Linked DNA regions of Homo sapiens: regions 2 and 3 are each linked to region 1. The links are contacts of gene promoters, found by promoter capture Hi-C in blood cells and fetal thymus (Javierre and others, 2016). All regions are on one chromosome and are shown on one strand. Each heading gives the region's core, a stretch centred on a gene start or on the middle of the fragment in contact. The rest is flanking DNA. Distances are from core to core; before and after follow the strand shown. Region 1 holds the start of AK4 (adenylate kinase 4). Region 2 overlaps PDE4B (phosphodiesterase 4B). Region 3 overlaps PDE4B (phosphodiesterase 4B).

Evidence for each region. Contacts are between HindIII fragments. The CHiCAGO score rates a contact against its expected background, and 5 or more counts as called.
Region 2: a contact is called between a fragment that was not itself captured here and the fragment with the promoter of AK4 in region 1, in 1 of 17 cell types (M0 macrophages). The highest score is 5.4, in M0 macrophages.
Region 3: a contact is called between a fragment that was not itself captured here and the fragment with the promoter of AK4 in region 1, in 1 of 17 cell types (M0 macrophages). The highest score is 5.3, in M0 macrophages.

What each region holds. Positions count from the first base shown.
Region 1 is chr1:65,146,701-65,149,905 of GRCh38, forward strand. AK4 (adenylate kinase 4) reads left to right here and starts at 1,503. Exons shown (of 5, transcript NM_013410.4): 1 at 1,503-1,852. The coding sequence starts at 1,708. RefSeq lists silencers at 670-909, 920-1,419, 1,800-2,099, 2,160-2,439 and enhancers at 2,033-2,751, 2,752-3,205. The HindIII fragment of the contact is 4,960 bases long and covers 1-2,971 here.
Region 2 is chr1:66,371,252-66,374,456 of GRCh38, forward strand. PDE4B (phosphodiesterase 4B) reads left to right here. Exons shown (of 17, transcript NM_002600.4): 17 at 1,062-3,205. The coding sequence ends at 1,427. Among named protein-coding and RNA genes, the nearest start is that of SGIP1, 160 kb to the right of the region's middle. RefSeq lists enhancers at 1,570-1,659, 2,030-2,079, 3,026-3,205. The HindIII fragment of the contact is 276 bases long and covers 1,630-1,905 here.
Region 3 is chr1:66,345,228-66,348,432 of GRCh38, forward strand. All of the region lies in intron 8 of PDE4B (phosphodiesterase 4B), which reads left to right. Among named protein-coding and RNA genes, the nearest start is that of SGIP1, 190 kb to the right of the region's middle. The HindIII fragment of the contact is 1,704 bases long and covers 610-2,313 here.

The DNA.
Region 1 (3,205 bases), core at 253-2,752:
CCCTGCTGAAGATTTTTCACTTTATCCTGAAGGGAAGACAATATCTGAGGCCGGGAAATAATAAATATTGATTTTCACTTTATCAGTATTCCTGGCAGCTGCACGGAAAATGGAATGGCACAGAAACTGGAGTCTTATGGGCACTTATCCCACTAGTTGGGGTGGGAAATTAAAGGCTGTGTGTAAGGTGGGCACAGATCTAACAGAATGTGGATTGGGATATGCAGGGGAGGGTGGAGTGGGGGAAGACAGACTCCATTTGGACTTGGTGAGTTATAGGTGCAGCACCAGCATAATGCGCATGGAAGTCCTGGAATCATTTACCAAGAAGGTCCTGAACACAGGTGAGGGACATCCCCTTCTTCCCTGTTCCCTAAGGCGCCTAGACTTTGGAGTCAGTCAGTCTTGGGTTCCAGCCTCCCGCTAGGACGCAATTTCTTGAGAGCAGGATTCGATCTGTTGTTCACGGCTAGATCCTAAGCGCCTAGAATAGTTTCTGGCACACAGTAGGCACTCAATAAACATTTGCAGAATGAATCAATGAATGAATGGTCACGCTCCATTCCTCGGCTGTAAACACAATGAAATCACCTAGCCGCAAACTTGGCGCACAGTAGGCGCTCAACAAGTTGTATTTTTCCCTTCCCTTGCAGTAGACCGCGGTCCCCAGGCGACCGCGAAAGAAAAAAAGGGGTTTCTCTACCTCGCGTGGTCTGCACCTCGCTTCGCCCCCGCAGCCCTCGCTGGGTCGCAGGGAGCACGTGGGCCAGGCAGGCTGGGTGGGAGTGGAGTGGAGTGGAGGGGAGGGGGCGGCGGCCAGCGGCTCGCGCGGAGCCGGTCTCCCGGGCTTACGTAAGGCGCGAGTCCCGCGCGGCCGGCCGGGGCTCCGCGACTGGGCGGGCGGAGGCGGCGCCGCCCTGCAGGATCCGGGCTGGAAGCCTCTCGGAGTGCTGCCTCCAGCCAAGGTGTGTGTTTATTTGATTGCTTTTGGTGGCGAGGCGCGGGGCTCGGGCTCGTCGCGCGCCCCATGGCCGGGGAGCGCATCCGCCAACCCCGGGCGGAGGTGGGCCCCTCCGAGCGCGCGCGGGCGGCGGGCAGCGGCGGCAGCTGAGACTCCGGGGGATGTGACAGCCGCCGGGGAGGGGACGAGACGCAGACCACACGTTGCCCACGTGCGAGGACCGGGCAGGGGCTCAGCCCCTAGGCCGCCCGGTGCGTGGGGCGGCGGGGGCTGGCTTTGAGTCACCCCCGCTTGTGCCAGCTTCCCCGGCTCGGCGGAGACTGGCTTGGGGATGCCTGGCCGCCCGGCCCCCTTCTCGGACGCGGCGTGGGGAGCGAGCTGGAGTTAAGGATGAAGGTGGGACTGGCCGGGCCGACCTCTGACCCCTGGAGGCCGAGTCGGCAGGGCGGGGCACGGCGCGCTTCAGCAGCTTTGCGTGGGGGCGAGGAGGTGGAGGAGGGCGAGGAGGTGGAGAAGGGCGGGGAGGTGTAGCGTGGCGCTCAGTCCGCCTGCTACTCGGTCCCGGCGCTGGGCTGAGGGGAGGGGTTGTCTTAAAAGTCTCTCCTTCCCCCTGTAGGGGCGGCCGGCGAGTCCCAGTGAGAGCGGAGGGTGCCAGAGGTAGGGGGCCGAGAAACAAAGTTCCCGGGGCTTCCTCCGGGGCCGCGGTCGGGGCTGCGCGTTTGACCGCCCCCCTCCTCGCGAAGGCAATGGCTTCCAAACTCCTGCGCGCGGTCATCCTCGGGCCGCCCGGCTCGGGCAAGGGCACCGTGTGCCAGAGGATCGCCCAGAACTTTGGTCTCCAGCATCTCTCCAGCGGCCACTTCTTGCGGGAGAACATCAAGGCCAGCACCGGTGAGGGGCTGCGGGGACGAGGGCCGGGGGCGAGCCGCGTTGGGCTGGGGTGAGGCCCTGGAGGGACTGGGGCTCCCGGATCACGGCGCCCTTCCCCCGCCCGCGTGTGGTCGTGCAGGCTCGTACGTGCCGGGGCGCATGCAGCTGGCGGCCGCGCGGCTTAACCGCGCCTGGGGAGGAGGCCGAGGCTCCAGGGGCGGCCGGTGGGAGGTGCCCACGGCTCCTCTCCACCGCTCCTCCTGTCGCGAGGAATAGCCCGAGCCACCCGGCCGAGGGAACGAGAACTAGGCAGGGAAAACCCGGAGCTTCCGTCTCACGCTGCCCTCCTTAAGGCAGAGCCGTCCCCGTACCCCTTAGCCCTGGCCCCCTCCCCCGAGTCCCTAGAGAGCCGCGCGCCCCCTCCCGCGGGAGCCCAGAGGCGGAGCGCCGCCCACCTGTGGCAGTCGGGCGGGGCCGCGCGCCGGGGAACCTGTGGCGCCGGGGGGCTCGCAGCCTCGCGCCTCTCCAGCCCCTCCACGCAGCCTCGGGCCTCGGGGCAGAGCCCTGGGTGGCTTTGAAAGGCCTGTCTGTTCGTTGTCGCCTTCTAAGGTAAACTCTCCCCAGCAACTCCCCCCCCTCCCGAAGCCGCCGGGCCTGGCCGTCAGGAGACTCGGAGGAGACTCGTTCTGATAAATTACATTTTGTAATGCAGCTTTCCTGGAAATGGCTTCTTGAGCTGCCTCCCTTGGCATGAGATGCCTCCTTTGGCTGGCGTGGTGAACTTGGGGATATATAGATCGCCTGATTTCTTAGTCTGACGGGGTTGAGTGCGTCCCTTTCCCCCTCTCCTCCCACTCCACGTTCACACCAGTTCCGAAAGAATTGGCGTTAAAAGGCGAGAGGTAGCGGTTGTGCTGCTGCGAGGCTCTTAACCCTTCTGGGATGGAGATGCTGGTAATTAGCAACTCCTTTATGAAAAGTTGTTCTTCCCAGCAGGGGTCCTTTACTGTCGATGTACTTCTCAAGGATGTCCGGGCTGGTTATTGCCCATCATGGACTAATTATCCGGAGATCTGCATTTCAGAAGCACAGACTGGCTTGAAAAGGAAGGTGGAGGACAGTACCAGAAAACAAAAGGAAAGCTTAAAAGCAAGGAATTAAGAAGTATCTCCAGAATTGTATTCCTTATCTCTTAAGCAGATTGAAAAAGCGGACTTTTACAGGAAACTCTTCCCCCACCCCCATGTCTCAAAAGGAAGAATTATGTGTACCAGATTGCACTTGAGTTTTCTGTTGTGGGTATTGTTACCTCAAGTGCGCCTATTTTGATTTTAATACATTCACATGCATTTTATTCTTGAAATGCTGCGGTTT
Region 2 (3,205 bases), core at 518-3,017, 1.2 Mb after region 1:
GAAAGAGACCTATATAATGTCCCATGGGTGGGTGCCCTTTGACCATCTACCCCTAAATCCCAATGCAGCATCTCTGTAGCTCCCCAGACCATGGCAGGGGAATTCCCTTCCCTCATTCAACTAGTGCCTGTTCTTTCTCTCTACTTGTCCCCACCCCCAGTGTTTCCTGTTTGTCCAACAATGAGGAGGCCAGCGTAAGGCCACACTGCTAGCTCATGCAGGATGCATAGCCCCTGAGTAAACCATAACAGAGCCATAAGCCTGGTATTTAATCACAGGAACATCAGCAAAAGGAACTGCTTAATTGTTTTTTATTTTCCCTTCTTTCACCTGTTGGAAATGACTGCGTGCTCTGTAGATCCAAAACAATTGCATGGATGTCCACCGAGGGGATATGTGTTTCTTTCAGGGCTCAAAGTATTTTCACGTGTTTCATCAAACTCCTCTACCAGCCAAAAGCATTCCACAGAACTTGAGAAATTCCAGAGTAGTCAGGAGCCAGCTCCTCATCACTTTGGAATAGCAACATATTTTAAAGTTAACAAGGAAAAAATATTGAGTCAAAACACGTTAGACCTGGGCCTGCCTTCTTCAGAAAATGACTCACAGAATCCAAGTAGTGGCAAAGTCATTCTTTGTCTTTGGGTCCCTGGAAATCATGAGGATTCCATCCAGACTTCTTATCTGGCGCACATAAAAGGAAATGCAGTCTGTTGTAGCAAGATGAACACGGGCTTTGGAATCAGATGAAGCTGGGACTGAGTCCCAGCTCCACCAGTCACTAGTTATGTGACCTCTGACAAGATATTTAATCTCAATAAGTCGTAGTTTCTGCCTTTGTAAATAGTAAACAGCAATACTTACCTTCCAGGATTAAGAGAGAATACATCGATTGCATTCAGTGTAAGACCCACTGTATTGTGAGTGCCCAAATCATGGAATCCATTATGATTGATCTTTCTGAAGTTATTAATGTTCTTTCTTTGCATGGAAACCAGGAAACCTTGTTTACTTTTCAAGCACCATCACAATAACAGATGTGTCATCTTATTTTTCTCCAGGTTGGTTTCATCGACTACATTGTCCATCCATTGTGGGAGACATGGGCAGATTTGGTACAGCCTGATGCTCAGGACATTCTCGATACCTTAGAAGATAACAGGAACTGGTATCAGAGCATGATACCTCAAAGTCCCTCACCACCACTGGACGAGCAGAACAGGGACTGCCAGGGTCTGATGGAGAAGTTTCAGTTTGAACTGACTCTCGATGAGGAAGATTCTGAAGGACCTGAGAAGGAGGGAGAGGGACACAGCTATTTCAGCAGCACAAAGACGCTTTGTGTGATTGATCCAGAAAACAGAGATTCCCTGGGAGAGACTGACATAGACATTGCAACAGAAGACAAGTCCCCCGTGGATACATAATCCCCCTCTCCCTGTGGAGATGAACATTCTATCCTTGATGAGCATGCCAGCTATGTGGTAGGGCCAGCCCACCATGGGGGCCAAGACCTGCACAGGACAAGGGCCACCTGGCCTTTCAGTTACTTGAGTTTGGAGTCAGAAAGCAAGACCAGGAAGCAAATAGCAGCTCAGGAAATCCCACGGTTGACTTGCCTTGATGGCAAGCTTGGTGGAGAGGGCTGAAGCTGTTGCTGGGGGCCGATTCTGATCAAGACACATGGCTTGAAAATGGAAGACACAAAACTGAGAGATCATTCTGCACTAAGTTTCGGGAACTTATCCCCGACAGTGACTGAACTCACTGACTAATAACTTCATTTATGAATCTTCTCACTTGTCCCTTTGTCTGCCAACCTGTGTGCCTTTTTTGTAAAACATTTTCATGTCTTTAAAATGCCTGTTGAATACCTGGAGTTTAGTATCAACTTCTACACAGATAAGCTTTCAAAGTTGACAAACTTTTTTGACTCTTTCTGGAAAAGGGAAAGAAAATAGTCTTCCTTCTTTCTTGGGCAATATCCTTCACTTTACTACAGTTACTTTTGCAAACAGACAGAAAGGATACACTTCTAACCACATTTTACTTCCTTCCCCTGTTGTCCAGTCCAACTCCACAGTCACTCTTAAAACTTCTCTCTGTTTGCCTGCCTCCAACAGTACTTTTAACTTTTTGCTGTAAACAGAATAAAATTGAACAAATTAGGGGGTAGAAAGGAGCAGTGGTGTCGTTCACCGTGAGAGTCTGCATAGAACTCAGCAGTGTGCCCTGCTGTGTCTTGGACCCTGCCCCCCACAGGAGTTGTACAGTCCCTGGCCCTGTTCCCTACCTCCTCTCTTCACCCCGTTAGGCTGTTTTCAATGTAATGCTGCCGTCCTTCTCTTGCACTGCCTTCTGCGCTAACACCTCCATTCCTGTTTATAACCGTGTATTTATTACTTAATGTATATAATGTAATGTTTTGTAAGTTATTAATTTATATATCTAACATTGCCTGCCAATGGTGGTGTTAAATTTGTGTAGAAAACTCTGCCTAAGAGTTACGACTTTTTCTTGTAATGTTTTGTATTGTGTATTATATAACCCAAACGTCACTTAGTAGAGACATATGGCCCCCTTGGCAGAGAGGACAGGGGTGGGCTTTTGTTCAAAGGGTCTGCCCTTTCCCTGCCTGAGTTGCTACTTCTGCACAACCCCTTTATGAACCAGTTTTGGAAACAATATTCTCACATTAGATACTAAATGGTTTATACTGAGCTTTTACTTTTGTATAGCTTGATAGGGGCAGGGGGCAATGGGATGTAGTTTTTACCCAGGTTCTATCCAAATCTATGTGGGCATGAGTTGGGTTATAACTGGATCCTACTATCATTGTGGCTTTGGTTCAAAAGGAAACACTACATTTGCTCACAGATGATTCTTCTGAATGCTCCCGAACTACTGACTTTGAAGAGGTAGCCTCCTGCCTGCCATTAAGCAGGAATGTCATGTTCCAGTTCATTACAAAAGAAAACAATAAAACAATGTGAATTTTTATAATAAAATGTGAACTGATGTAGCAAATTACGCAAATGTGAAGCCTCTTCTGATAACACTTGTTAGGCCTCTTACTGATGTCAGTTTCAGTTTGTAAAATATGTTTCATGCTTTCAGTTCAGCATTGTGACTCAGTAATTACAGAAAATGGCACAAATGTGCATGACCAATGTATGTCTATGAACACTGCATTGTTTCAGGTGGA
Region 3 (3,205 bases), core at 212-2,711, 1.2 Mb after region 1:
TTCTCTTTGCTCAAAAGTTGAGTTAAAAATAAAAGTTAAAGGGAAATCCACAATTTATTATATTCTCGTATAACTTGTTAACAAAACATATCATCACAGAATTTTAAAGCTAGAAATCAGCGAAGTCTTGTTTTTCAGACCTCAGTTTAGATATCACCTCTTAGAAAGACCTTCTTTTATTACCCTAATTCAGCTGCTTGTTGGTTTTGCAATTTACTATCACAATTTATGGTTTTTGGTTTTGATCATGGAACTTGGTTTTTACTGATATCTTTCATTAGACTGTAAAGTTACTGAAGACATGAATTGTGTCTACCATGTTCACTAGTGAAGCCCCAGCAGTTACACTAGCTGTAGACACATGGTAGGCATTAGAATAAATATTTTTTGATCAATTGCATGAGGTTCAGAAACTTAATCTAATTTGTCCAAGACCAAGTATTTGTTAGTGATAAATCCATTAGAACCCTGGAATCCTGTTTCCTGTTGTGCGGCAATGGCTACATGTAGGGGCCTGCCATGCCTAATTCCAGCTTTCTAATTGTTAGGTTGCATGAGAAACCCTCATCTGGTTCCCAATGACCCCCAAAGTACCCTGAAAAAAGGGAAAGCTTATTCCTACCCTTCTCTTTCATCCAGAGTCAGATAACAAAGAACAAAGTTGTCAGGGACCAGTGCTTTCTTCCTGTGAGCAGAAATGTGAAGCATGGTTTTGGTTGGGGTTTTTGTTTGTTCGGTTGGCTTTTGGTTCAGTTTTGCAATATTTGGCTTACTATTCTCTCAAAAAGTCTGCATCCTGTGGACAAGAATCTAAGCCCTTTGGAGACTAGCAATGGCTATTCCACACTCTCTGGGGAGCCTATTTATGAGCACATGTGTTTGTAATTCAGCCACTCTCCATATCTGTTGGAGAATAGCAGCCTAATTATCTGCCATCATTTGGTTATGTTTTTCATTCCTGGCATATTGGTGACACTCCTCTCACCTGAGCCACATATTCAATTAATTCATATGTGTTACCACATTGATCTTAACTGTGAAAATCTGAGCAAAATGCATACTTGGTGCAGTTATCCTCATGTCAGGTAGTCTGTGGTCAGTCACAGCTTTTAGTCAATAGATAAAAAGTTGTAAAGTGTCTTAATTTGAGAAAATTGGCTAAACCAAAGAAGCATGAATGGATAGTTACCAACAGCTGGATTTCTCCAAATAGACTCTTTTTTTACGGTTTAACTTAAGCATAAGACCATTTTGAGTTATGGTGCTTTTCATTTGACTTGCTTCATCTATCTTTCTGGCAATTCTTGTTTACGCTCCTTAGACTGGTGAATAATCTAAATGTCAACCAGAGAGTCTGAACTTCTATGAGTAACTCATGTGTCACATAATCTATGTGACATAGTAGTGCATCACACCTGCAGCAGCATGCTATGGGAATTCTGTAATTAATTATATATGCTGCTGTCAACAATGAAAAGAAGGTGTTCAAGTATCAAAGAACCAACTGAAACTTCCACCCAAAAGCAAAGCCAAAGTGAGAAAGGTACCATGAGCTCAGATTATTTTGAAATTTACAGATAAAACCTAGCTTCAAGTACAAATCCTGTGGAAGAAAGAGCACACACTTGGTCTCAGACACCTTGGCAGCCACTTCACATATGTTATTCCTAATCTTCCCATTTCAAAGATAGAAAATTCTAGTCTCTAAGAGACTCAATGACTTGCTAAGTTTCTCAGACTAAGTTACAGTACATATTTTATTTCCAGACTCAGTTGAATTCTCAGATGCTCCTATGTCATATTTTATTTCCGGACTCAGTTGAATCCTCAGATGCTCCTATATCATGCTGTTATGACGTTGGGTTAGCTGAGGTCACTGGTAAGGCAAACCTGCAACCAGCACTCCCTCTACTTCATGTTTGCAGTAGAAGCTGCCTCTATAAACCTTCCGTGAACCTAACAAACCTATGCATCTTGAGGTGCATTGTTGTTCAAAGCATCTCTCCATCTCTTCTAAATTATGATAGCTAATAATGGAAAACACAAAATACATAACAAGCCCAACTACCTTTTTTAATAGGATAAAATTGCATAAGAAATAGCTGTCTATGAAATTTATGTCTATTTTATGTTATGAAACTATTTTCATCTTTTATAGTTTTAGTTAATAGTTTATGTGTGCAAACCTCCAACCTGTTACAAATTTTCCTCAATTTGCCGGTGCATACTCTAGCTTAGGGATTACTGAAATATCAAAACAGATAATAATATATATGCTTTCAGGGAAGGAAAGGATAGATCTATGTAGTCCAAAGCTTTCTTTTATTTTTTTGATAGGCCCTAGAGTTGATCTTGAAAATTGCCAGATTAATAGGCTGTCCCAGCCCTGAGAAATCGCTAATCTAGAAGTGGCAATTCCCAAGGCAGGTTTTGAAGCATTCCATTGTCTTTTACCTCAAGGGATGTATGAAAGTCACTAGCTGAAATCAATACAATTAATAATAAATACAATGTATTCTACATGGTATTTTTAAGGGGTAGAGTAATAATCTCAAAAACAAGCTATGATAGATTTTTGTAGCTGCAAAAAATATTAGAAACTTCAATAAGGCAGGATTTAAAACAACCTAAGAGGTACTATAGACTGAAAATGGAATTAACTTCTTAAAGAGAATCATGACCAATACGTAAGGGTTATGAAAAGAAAGTATAATATTTGAGTGGTAGTTTCCCTGTTCTGTGTAACTACTTTCATGTCAGATATGAAGGTCCTAAAACATAGGTGTTATTTTTCACTAGTCAGGAAAGGACACTAGACTGGATGGTCTGTGGGTCTGATCCACAGTAAGTGTTCTGATTGCTGAAAAATACTATAAGTTGTAGAGCTTCTAGCTGCGAAATGTTTCAAAATAAACCTTTGTCATCTACTTTGGAATCATATTAATGCCCTGTGGCCTTAGAATTGACTCTAGAAGCTTTCAGTTAAATATTAGCCGTTATACCTGTACAGAAAAAGTTGTAGAAAGGCTTAAAAGGAAAAACAAAAGAGTGACTGAATAATGTACCTTGATTCCTTGATTTTTCTCAGTTACTATGATGATTTTTGTCATCTGTTGAAAAAGGTTTCTGCTAAATTTAATTATCAGATCATCATCTCAAATCTTCAAAGTTCCTTTTTTTGTCTTTCTCTATTAACAGACAAATT